Linked DNA regions of Homo sapiens: all the other regions are linked to region 3. Evidence: promoter capture Hi-C in human tissues and cell types (Jung and others, 2019). All regions are on one chromosome and are shown on one strand. The core of a region is centred on a gene start or on the middle of the fragment in contact, and the rest is flanking DNA. Distances in the headings are between cores, read along the strand shown. Region 1 has its middle 15 kb from the start of EPCIP. Region 2 overlaps PAXBP1 (PAX3 and PAX7 binding protein 1). Region 3 holds the start of GART (phosphoribosylglycinamide formyltransferase, phosphoribosylglycinamide synthetase, phosphoribosylaminoimidazole synthetase).

The links. Contacts are between HindIII fragments. The study calls those that stand out against the background at their distance.
Region 1: a contact is called between a fragment that was not itself captured here and the fragment with the promoter of GART in region 3, in 1 of the 25 tissues and cell types used here (dorsolateral prefrontal cortex).
Region 2: a fragment that was not itself captured here is called in contact with the fragment with the promoter of GART in region 3 in 2 of the 25 tissues and cell types used here (dorsolateral prefrontal cortex and spleen).

The regions. Positions count from the first base shown.
Region 1 is chr21:32,827,397-32,830,739 of GRCh38, forward strand. No RefSeq gene overlaps it. Among named protein-coding and RNA genes, the nearest start is that of EPCIP, 15 kb to the left of the region's middle. The HindIII fragment of the contact is 3,476 bases long and covers 1-3,195 here.
Region 2 is chr21:32,744,868-32,748,193 of GRCh38, forward strand. It overlaps PAXBP1 (PAX3 and PAX7 binding protein 1), which reads right to left. Exons shown (of 18, transcript NM_016631.4): 12 at 707-851; 13 at 1-46. Among named protein-coding and RNA genes, the nearest start is that of PAXBP1-AS1, 18 kb to the left of the region's middle. The HindIII fragment of the contact is 5,225 bases long and covers 1-3,326 here.
Region 3 is chr21:33,540,517-33,543,997 of GRCh38, forward strand. It overlaps GART (phosphoribosylglycinamide formyltransferase, phosphoribosylglycinamide synthetase, phosphoribosylaminoimidazole synthetase), which reads right to left and starts at 1,601. Exons shown (of 22, transcript NM_000819.5): 1 at 1,549-1,601. It overlaps SON (SON DNA and RNA binding protein), which reads left to right and starts at 2,522. Exons shown (of 12, transcript NM_138927.4): 1 at 2,522-2,653. The coding sequence starts at 2,577. RefSeq lists silencers at 1,477-1,766, 2,807-2,896 and enhancers at 1,917-2,366, 1,931-2,662, 2,567-2,626. The HindIII fragment of the contact is 11,246 bases long and covers 1-3,481 here.

The DNA of each region.
Region 1 (3,343 bases), core at 208-2,707, 710 kb before region 3:
TGAGCTGAGATCATGCCACTGCACTTCAGCCTGGGAAACAGAGTGAGACTCCATCTTAGAAAAAAAAAAAAGGACTATTGGGGAAAAAATAGCAAACCCTGGACATTTCAGATCACTAAACTACCCCTTGTGTGACTTGCTCAAAATAATGTTATTACAAACTCATGGAATATTACTGGCTTTAGGCGATGACACAGTTGCAGTAATGTTCTGATTTGATTATTCAGAAATGAAATTTATGGTTTAAATTTCATCCAGGATTTATAGAATTTAAAAAAGTTATTCTTCAGTATTTGAAATACCACTTTGCCAAAGCAGAAAAGCCATAAATGTGTTAAACTGGCTAAGAAAATTAAGATGGCAGTAATACATTTTCTAATAAAAATCATAGCATAATAGCAAAATTACTGCGGAAAACCACAGTTATTGTGGCAAAGACATAAAATGTTACAGCTGCAATAATATGCTATTTGTTTTGGCAGGAGAATAAGAATACTGTACATTGCAGTTTTTCAATATTGGAAAAACATAAGAAAATACTATAAACTTAAAAGACTATTTTTTAAAAATGAAGAAGTGCATGAATGATTTTAAATTTTGAGCATATAAAAGAGTCTTGCTGCAAAGTCTATTGAACTCCTGAGAAGACTCTGTTTTGCTGTTTCTGATTTGCCAGTATCCTACCAGAAAACTATGCCTCCCAATAGAAAAAGAACACATAATCCTGTCTGTATTTGAGGGTTCAAGCCTGGAGATTCCGCCCCCTTGGTCGGTTGATTTTTATTGGAAACCCAAGATGCACCTGCCTGTGGAATGCATTTCAGAATGTGGAAGTACAGCAGGAAGAAAGCAGACAAGAACACAATCCCATGGTATTCTTGGTTAGGGACAGCTTGGGGGTCAGTGGGGGAGACATACACAGATTAAATGATTAATAGAGTAATTCAGCTTATTTACATTAGTCTGGTTTTTTACATGAGGGGCTCACAAATTCTTAATTTGTCCTTTCTTTATTATATTTTTCTTTTTTGCTATCTTTCAATATTGATTATCCATTTCTTCCCTTAATTACTAGACTTTCTGAACTTTTAAAAACATATATCTTCCAACTGGAAAGTATCTGTCCCTTATAACAACTACCAGTACTACTCATAAAACAACAAAAACCCATATAGCACTTAATAAGTGTCAGTCAGTATTTTAAACAGTTTATGCATATTATTCATTTAATCCTCTCAATGACCCTGTGAGAAGGTGCCATTATTCTCCTTATTTTTCATACGTGGAAAGTAAAGAGTAGGGAGAAACTGTCCAAGCTCACACAGCTAGTAAGTCATAGAGCTGAGACTGGAACCCAGATAGCCTGGCCCCAGAGTCCTTCACTATTCTGAATTTATAAAGATATTTTTGATATTTTCTTCCCAAAGTTTTAAAGCTTTCCTTTTCACATTGGAGTTTTAAATCTATCTATAATTAATTTTGAGTATGGCATGATTTAGGTATAACTTTTTATATGAAAAACTAATTTTCCCAGTTCTATTTATTGATATGCAAATATAAAATGTCTCTCTTTCTCTCTCTATATATATATCTGAGGTTGTTTTTGAGTGCTTTATATTCTTGCTTTGGTCTGAAAATTCACAGGTTGAAATTCTAACTCTTGAGACGATGGTATTAGAAAGCAGGGCCTTTGGAAGGCGATTACGTCATAAGGGTAGAGCCTTCAGGAATGGGACTTAGTGCCCTTAGAAGAAGCTGAGAGACCAGCGTTTTCTCTCTTCCATCATGTGAGGACACAGCAAGAAGGCACCATCTATGAACCAGAAAGTGCCCCTCACCAGACATCAAATCTGCTGGCACCTTGATCTTGAACTTCCAGCCTTTAGAACCATGAGGAATAAATGTCTGTTTTTATAAGTCATCCAATAGGTGATGTTTTGTTATAGGGCCTGAGTAGTCTTAGACAGTTACAGATGATTCGCTCTCACTGACTGTTGAATATTATTCTAAGTGTGGATATTACACAATTTATTTACCCATTCTACTATTTTAATTTTATTTTTTTTAATGTTTGAGACAGGATCTTGGTCTGTCACCCAGGCTAGAGTGCAGTGGCACAATCATGGTTCACTGTATCCTCCAACTTCTGGGCTTAAGGGTTCCTACCACCTCAACCTCCTGAGTAGCTGGGACTACAAGAATATGCCAACATGCCCAGCTAATTTTTCATCTTTAAAAAAAAATTATTTTGTAGAGTGGGATCTCACTATGTTGCCCAGGCTAATCTTGAACTCCTGGGCTCAAGCGATCCTTCTGCCTTGGCCTCCTAAAGTGCTGGGATTATAGGCGTGAGCCACTGTACCTAGTCCCATTCTACTATAGATGGGCATGTGGGTTGTATCCAGTTCTTTTACTATTATAAATAGTGAAGCCATGAACATTCTCCTAAATGTGTTTTGGTGAACATGTATATACATTTCTGTTGAGTATACATCCAAGATTGAAATTGCTGGGTCACAGACTACACATATGTTTCTGCTTTAGTAGATGTCGCCTGACAGTTTTCTAAGGTGGGTGGGCCATTTTACACCCCGACCAGTAGTATATGAGGGTCCCCGTTGTTCCTCACTCTTGCCCACACTTGATAGTGTCTTCTTCCCTTTAGTCATTCTTGTGTACACAATTGTGGTCCTAGGTGACATTTTCTTGATAACTATTTGAAGGCTATCTTCTTTGTGTGGTGACATAATTGCTCATAATTCTGCCCATTTTTTTCTTTTGGGTTGTCTGACATTTAATACAAATCGCTTTGTAGGAGTTCGTTATATAATCTGAATGAGTCCTTTGTTGAATACATGTATTTTAAATATATTCTCCCACTCTGTGGCTTAACTTTTCACTCTTAACACTGTCTTTTGATGAACAAAAGTTTTTAATCTTTTTTATTTTTTGAGACAGAGTTTCACTCTTGTTGCCTGGGGTGGAGTGCAATGGAGTGATCTCAGCTCACCACAAACTCTGCCTCCCAGGTTCAAGTGATTCTCCTGCCTCAGCCTCCTGAGTAGCTAGGATTACAGGCGTGCGCCATCATGCTCGGCTAATTTTGTGTTTTTAGTAGAGATGGAGTTTTTCCATGTTGGTCAGGATGGTCTCAAACTCCCGACCTCAGGTGATCCACCTCCCTTGGCCTCCCAAAGTGCTGGGATTACAGGCATGAGCTGCTGCGCCTGGCCGAAAGTTTTTAATATTAATGTGTTTTAATTTACTTATTTTTTCTCTATGATTATCACATTTTTTGTGTTGGTTAAATAGACCTTTGGCTACTTCAGTTTCATGAAAATAT
Region 2 (3,326 bases), core at 674-3,173, 800 kb before region 3:
GAAGTCTGTGTTGTAGAAAAAGGGTCCCACATATTTTCAGCTATCACTATTAAGAAAAAAAGAGGATTGAGACACAGAAGCCAATTGTACCTTTAATTTTTTGTCAAGCAGACCTCTATTAATGCCAATCCTAATTTATTTTTCCTCTTTTTCTACAATATAAGCTTTAGTCTTCTTTGTCCTATTAACTGTGGGAATTTGGAGGGATAGGGATGTGGAGAGAGGATAGATTATTCTTATTTCTGGTACTCAGGGAAAATAAAGATTAGGAAAAAAGAGGATTTCTGTAGAAATGTTGTCTTGGCATCAAGAATTTCAAACTAACATTTCTAGTATTTAAAATAGATTCCTGTATCAATGATTCCTAATCTTTTTTGAGGAACTTATGAAAGCATTTTAATTGCTCCCCACATAAATGCATATCCTCCTCCCTCAAACTCTGTATAATTTTGCTTCAGTCAGTCTTTGAATTTCTAAACCTCACCTATGAAGCAATTACTGCACTCAACTACAGGCCCACCCTAAAGTGGTCTTCAAGTCCCAGGATAAGAACCCCTCTGCCCTCTAGCCATCTCTGGGCCAGGTGGTAACTATTATTTCTCATGTAATTTCTATAAGGAAACATGCTCTGAATTATAAACTCATAAAAATAGATTTGAGAAAGCCAGTGTGTCTGAATGCTCAATTCAGAGAACAGGAGATTTACCTGTTAGTTTAGGAAGAATCACCTTTTCCACAATGGTAGGTAGTAGGGCAACATCTACATCATCTTTTTCTTGCTCTCGTTCTTCACAACCATAAAACAGCAAAGATTCAAACCACAGCATATTCTCAAAGTCACGACATTTTGCCTAAAAGACATTTAAAAGGTTACCCAAATACTAAAATAGTGGCTATTTCTGCTTCCAGCTATGATAAGAGAAACAAGAACTGGATTTAACCTTTGGTTGCAAACAACTAAAAACTGGACGGCTGGAGATATCATGCTACCAGACTTCAAACTATAAGGCCACAGTAACCAAAACAGCATGGTACTGATACAAAAACAGACACATAGACCAATGGAACAGAATAGAGAACTCAGCAATAAGACCGCACACCTACAACCATCTGATCTCCGACAAACCTGACACGAACAAGCAATGGGGAAAAGATTCCCTGTTTAATAAATGGTGTTGGGAGAATTGGCTAGCCATATACAGAAAATTGAAACTGGGCTCCTTCCTTACACCATATACAAAAGTTAAGTCAAGATGGATTAAAGACTTAAATGTAAACCCCAAAACTATAAAAATCCTAGAAGAAAATCTAGGCAATACCATTCAAGACATCGGCATGGGCAAAGATTTCACGACAAAAACACCAAAAGCAACTGCAACAAAAGCAAAAATTGACAAATGGTATCTAATTCAACTAAAGAGCTTCTACGCAGCAAAAGAAACTATTATCAGAGTGAACAGACAACCTACAGAATGGGAGAAAATTCTTGCAATCTATCCATCTGACAAAGGTCTAATATCCAGAGTCTACAGGAAACTTTATAGGAAAAAAACAACCCCATTAAAAGTGGGCAAAGGACATGAACAGATACTTCTCAAAAGAAGACATTCATGTAGCCAACAAACATGAAAAAAAGCTCAACATCACCGATGATTGGAGAAATGCAAATCTAAACCACAATGAGATACCATCCCATGCCAATCAGAATGGGAATTATTTAAAAGTCCAGAAACAAAAGATGCTGGTAAGGTTTCAGAGAAAAAGGAACACTTTTACACTATTGGTGGGAGTGTAAGGAAGACAGTGTGCCAATTCCTCACAGATCTAGAAGCAGAAATGCCATTTGACCCAGCAATCCCATTACTGGGTATATACCTACAGAAATATAAATCATTCTATTATAAAGCTACATGCATATGTATGTTCACTGCAGCACTATTCACAATAGCAAAGACATGGAATCAACCCAAATGCCCATCAATTATAGACTGGATAAAGAAAATGTTATACATATACACCATGGAATACTATGCAGCCATAAAAAGGAACGAGGTCATGTCCTTTGCAGGGACATGGATGGAGCTAGAAGCCATTATCCTCAGCAAACTAACGCAGGAACAGAAACCCAAGCACCACATGTTCTCGCAAGTGGGAGCTGAACAATGAGAATATATGGACACATACTGGGGAAAAACACACACTGAGGCCTGTTGGGGGGTGGGGGTGGGGACTTGGGGGAGGGAGAGCAACAACAGCTACTGGATGCTAGGCTTCCTACCAAGGTGATGGGTTGATCTGTGCTGTAAACCACCATGTCACATGTTTACCTATGTAACAAATCTGCACATGTACCCTGGAACTTAAAAGCCAAAGAAAATAAAAAAGAACTGGACAAAATACAATGGACCATAGGCAGCACAAGACTATGACCCTTTAAAGAAAGGAATCAAATGAGGTGAGATGCTAGTTCAGGACAGCAGAGCAGTTTTGCTGAGTGGAGGAGACAGAGGGTGGAGCTCAGGAAGGCTGACACAGCTGGAAACTGTGGGGCAGAGGAGTGGGGGACACAGAAAAATAACTCCAAAATACAGTCTTGGGCCTTTGCTATCTACCAAGACACTCATGCACACAGCAAAACTTCAGAAGGTCTGGCCAAGAGCACACAGGAAATAGGAGCTGTGAGCTGAATGCTTCTCAGAGCTCACATTTTTTTCAGTTGTGTTTCCATGGCATCAACCTCAGCTCCCTTTTCCTTATAGTTCACAAATTCAACCTAGCCAATCTCAACCATGTCTACAGCTTCACCCACGTTGGTAACTTCTAAAACCACATTGTAAACATCACCACTAGACCTCCAGAGTCAATTCTAGCCCCCTCCCTTATATGACAGGCCAATAGGTCCTCTTGATTCCACCTCCTTATCTTTTTTTTTTTTTCTTGTGGCAGGTCTTGTTCTATCACCCAGGCTGCAGTGCAGTGGCACAATCATAGCTCATTACAGCCTTGATCTCCCGGGCTCAAGCAATCCTGCCTCAGCCCCCGAAGTAGCTAGGAATATGAGCACATGCCACCACAGCTAATTTTTTTTTTTTTTTTTTAAGTAGAGACAAGGTCTTGCTATGTTGCCCAGGCTGGTCTTGAACTCCTGAGCTCAAACAATCCTCCCGCCTTGGCCTCCCAAACTGTTGGGATTACAAGCATGAGCCACCATGCCTGGCCTATCAATTTTTCTCACCATGACAACTGACTTGGGTCATGTCCTCATTTCACACCTGCCTCATTGTGCTTTCCCATCTGGTTCTGAGTTCCTCTAGGATCAAAGGACC
Region 3 (3,481 bases), core at 351-2,850:
TGGTAGAGAAGGCAAAAATCAAATTCCAACTCATTTCACTTTAGTTCTGGCACCTGAGACTTAGAAGGATGGATACAACAGCAGTGTAACCTAGGAGATTAACTGAAATGACATTTATAAATAAGTACAATCTGGCACTCAGCAGTAGTAAATGTTAACTTGTTACATTTACTTACCACAAGACAAACTGGTAACAGGAAAAAGAAAATTGAAAACTTATTTTGATGATGTTGGGATTACATATTTTAAGAAAAATGTAAGCTGACAATATACAAAACTAACATTTTTTTGAGCACTTAACCTTGGGCAGGGTACTATTTAAAATGCTTGTCATGAAAGAATCCTATGAGGGAGATACTATTACTATCACCAATTTGCAGATAAGACAAGGAGGCCCAGATAGGTAAATAACTTGCTGGAGGTCACACAGGTAAGAGGGGGTGGAGCCTAACAGAAGCAATTTTGCTTCAGATTCTCTCAACAAGTGAAACGATGATCATTGAAAATTTGAGAAAGGAAAAAAAAAAACCCTGTTAAATTACAGTCTCGGAAGGAACAGCTACTTTAGTGTAACGGGAAAACACATTTTACTTGCCATGTGTATCTGAAATAAACAGATTTTTTATTTTATTTATTTATTTATTTGTTTAGACAGTCTCTCTCTGTCGCCCAGGCTGGAGGGCAGTGGTGTGATCTCAGCTCACTACAACCTCCGCCTCCCGGGTTCAAGCGATTCTCTTGCCTCACAGCCTCCCAAGTAGCTGGGATTACGGGCGTGCGCCGCCACGCCAGGCGAATTTTTGTATTTTTAGTAGCGACGGGGTTTCACTACGTTGGCCAGGCTGGTCTCGAACTCCTGACCTCCAATGGTCAACCCACCTTGGCCTCCCAAGTGCTGGGATTACATCACATCCGGCCAGAAATAAACAGATCTTTAAATCTAGAGCAAATGTTACATCTTTAGTTTGAATATAGCAGTAGTGTGGGAAAATTCTGTTTACTCTAGTGGATCACTGAAAATAGCCTTACTACCCAGTGGTGAGGACGCCTGGGCTCCTGAGTCTCACACAGCGCCTTGGCCTGGGTAGAGACGCTGCCCCATACTAGCAGGAAGACCTTGGGGGACTTCACTAACCTTGGGCCTCATTCCTCAGAATGGGTAACATAAGCAGAATAAGACAGGCAAATAAAGCCGTATCAGAGGATATGGAGAATAAAGTAGAAACCAACTACAAAATTAACCAAGTAATCTGCCAGAGACAACGGGTGCATAAAGAGAAAGTACACCAATTTAGGGTTATGTCCTAAAAATGTATAAAGACACAAAAAGGCCTTGACATCTTAGAAAACAGGAAAAGTAAAAGAGCAAATAGAAACCAGCTAACAGTAGCAAGTGAAAAGCACATGGCCAACCCCCACCCACCGCATTTACAAACAACAGGAAAATTTCTACAAATCAGTTTCTATGGTTTCACTCAGTTCGCGATCTTAAATCCCCAAACCAAAGCCTAAGCGCGCTCCGTGTAAAAGCGGAGGGGGTTTACGCACCGACACCGGGTGGCCACCTGGTTCCCGCTTGCCCGCTCGCCGGAAGTCGGCCCACCGGGACCGGCGCGGGACCAGCGCGGCACCGCCCCTCACTGCCCCGCCCTACGACGGCTTCCCTGCCCCATTGGTCCGCGCGGCCCTGGGTCTCCGCGGCGAGAATCTAGTCTGATTCCCTCCCGCCCTGGGCGCTGCCTGACTGCTCCCCAGCCGAGACACCCAAGCCTTAGCACGTTTATAATGTGACAGTGGTACGGGGTGCCACGCAGTGTTTCCAGGAGCGCCGGGGGGGAGCGCCAAAATGCTAAACCCATTCTTAGCCAATTGTGCGCCGCTCACGAGTCAGAGCTGAGCAGCTACCGCGGAAAAATCTCGTGACACGCCTGACTCCTGATGAGACTAAAATGCACCGGGCTTTGAATGCCGGTCGCTTAGGACATCCGGCCTATTGCTAAAAAAAAAAATGAGGCTGGTTATAGAACGCACTGGGGAAGACACAGGGCAACAGCGAGTTCCTCCTCTCACATGCCAGTGGGGGCGGGGGCTGAAAAATTCTCTCCCGGATGCATATCCCTGTCGAAACTGAACTTGGCGCCACCTGAGAGCGCCTGAAAGCCGTGTGTTAAACACCGGGTTGCCCTTCTTGCTCTTCTTCCTCTTCGCCTTTAATCTCAGGCACTTAGCAAGCCTGTTAAGGCTCCCAAACACTGCTGGGGACTGACAACTTATGCGGACACGGTCGCCTCAAGAGAGACGGCTCCTGTAATGGCGCCTGCGTCAGACACTAACATGGCGGACATAGTCGTGCGCGGCGCAAACGTCAGCACCTCTACCCCAGCCGCTCAGAAACAGCAGAGGAGAGCAGGGCCGTGCTCACTGATTGGTCCCTCGGTGGAGCGGGCCGGACCGGGCATTCCCTTTGGAGCCAATCAGGAAGGCGAGAGACCGAATTGGCCCGTGCGCCTCCTCCCGAGGCATGCTGGGAGCCTGGAGGACTAGCGAGGAGGAGTTGAGAGAACGGAGCGGACGCCATGGCGACCAACATCGAGCAGATTTTTAGGTCTTTCGTGGTCAGTAAATTCCGGGAAATTCAACAGGAGCTTTCCAGGTAAACGCCTCCCAGATTCTTCTGCTCCCAACGGACCGTTAGGCCCTCACCTAGCCTTCTTTGGCACCTTTCTTCGGAGACGCAGTCGTTCCCCGGCTCAGGCCCCGCTAGGGCCCCGCCTGGGCCTGGGATCCATTTTCCGGGCCCCCCCCAACCGCCCCCCCAGCCGCTCCCTTCCTTTTCCCTCGAGGAACTTCGCCTTTTCCGAGGTAACCCAAGACTCCCTGTTTCAGAACCGAGTTAAGATGTTCACCCTTCTCCCCTGTTTGGGTCCCCCCTGCCGTTTAGCTACTCGTAGGCCCGGTTGTCCGCCAGGGACGGGCCTAGTTCCTTCCTCAGCTCCTCCTCCGCCGCCGCGTATCCCCTCCCCCTCTCGCCTCCGCGGATTTTGCCGGCCGGTGCCTATGACCGGAAAGGGTCTCTAACGGCCGTTTCTTGGTTAATCTTAAATCCTCTTTATTATTGCGAGCTTCAGACCGCTTGGGGGTCTGGATCTATTAATAAGATTATTCGGGGCCTAGTGTCCTGTAGTATCTGTCAGCCGTTCTGATAGTTAAATGTTTCAATTAAAACGAACTCAAACTGATGCACTTGCTAGTTTGTTAAAATACTCGAGATAAAGATGGAAGGGGACTTTGAAATGGTTGCGATTAATTACAGCAAGTGAAAGTGGACTTTGTGTGTAGGTCTATTATTTTCTTGCTACCCCTGCCCCAGTTGACACGCTATTTTTGTCATTGCTGGTAGACTTTACATAATTTGCGCTTGGCTTCACAAAATTTGAAGGCGAAGAGATTGTTAAAGAAATGGTTGTTTACTTAGGAAAAT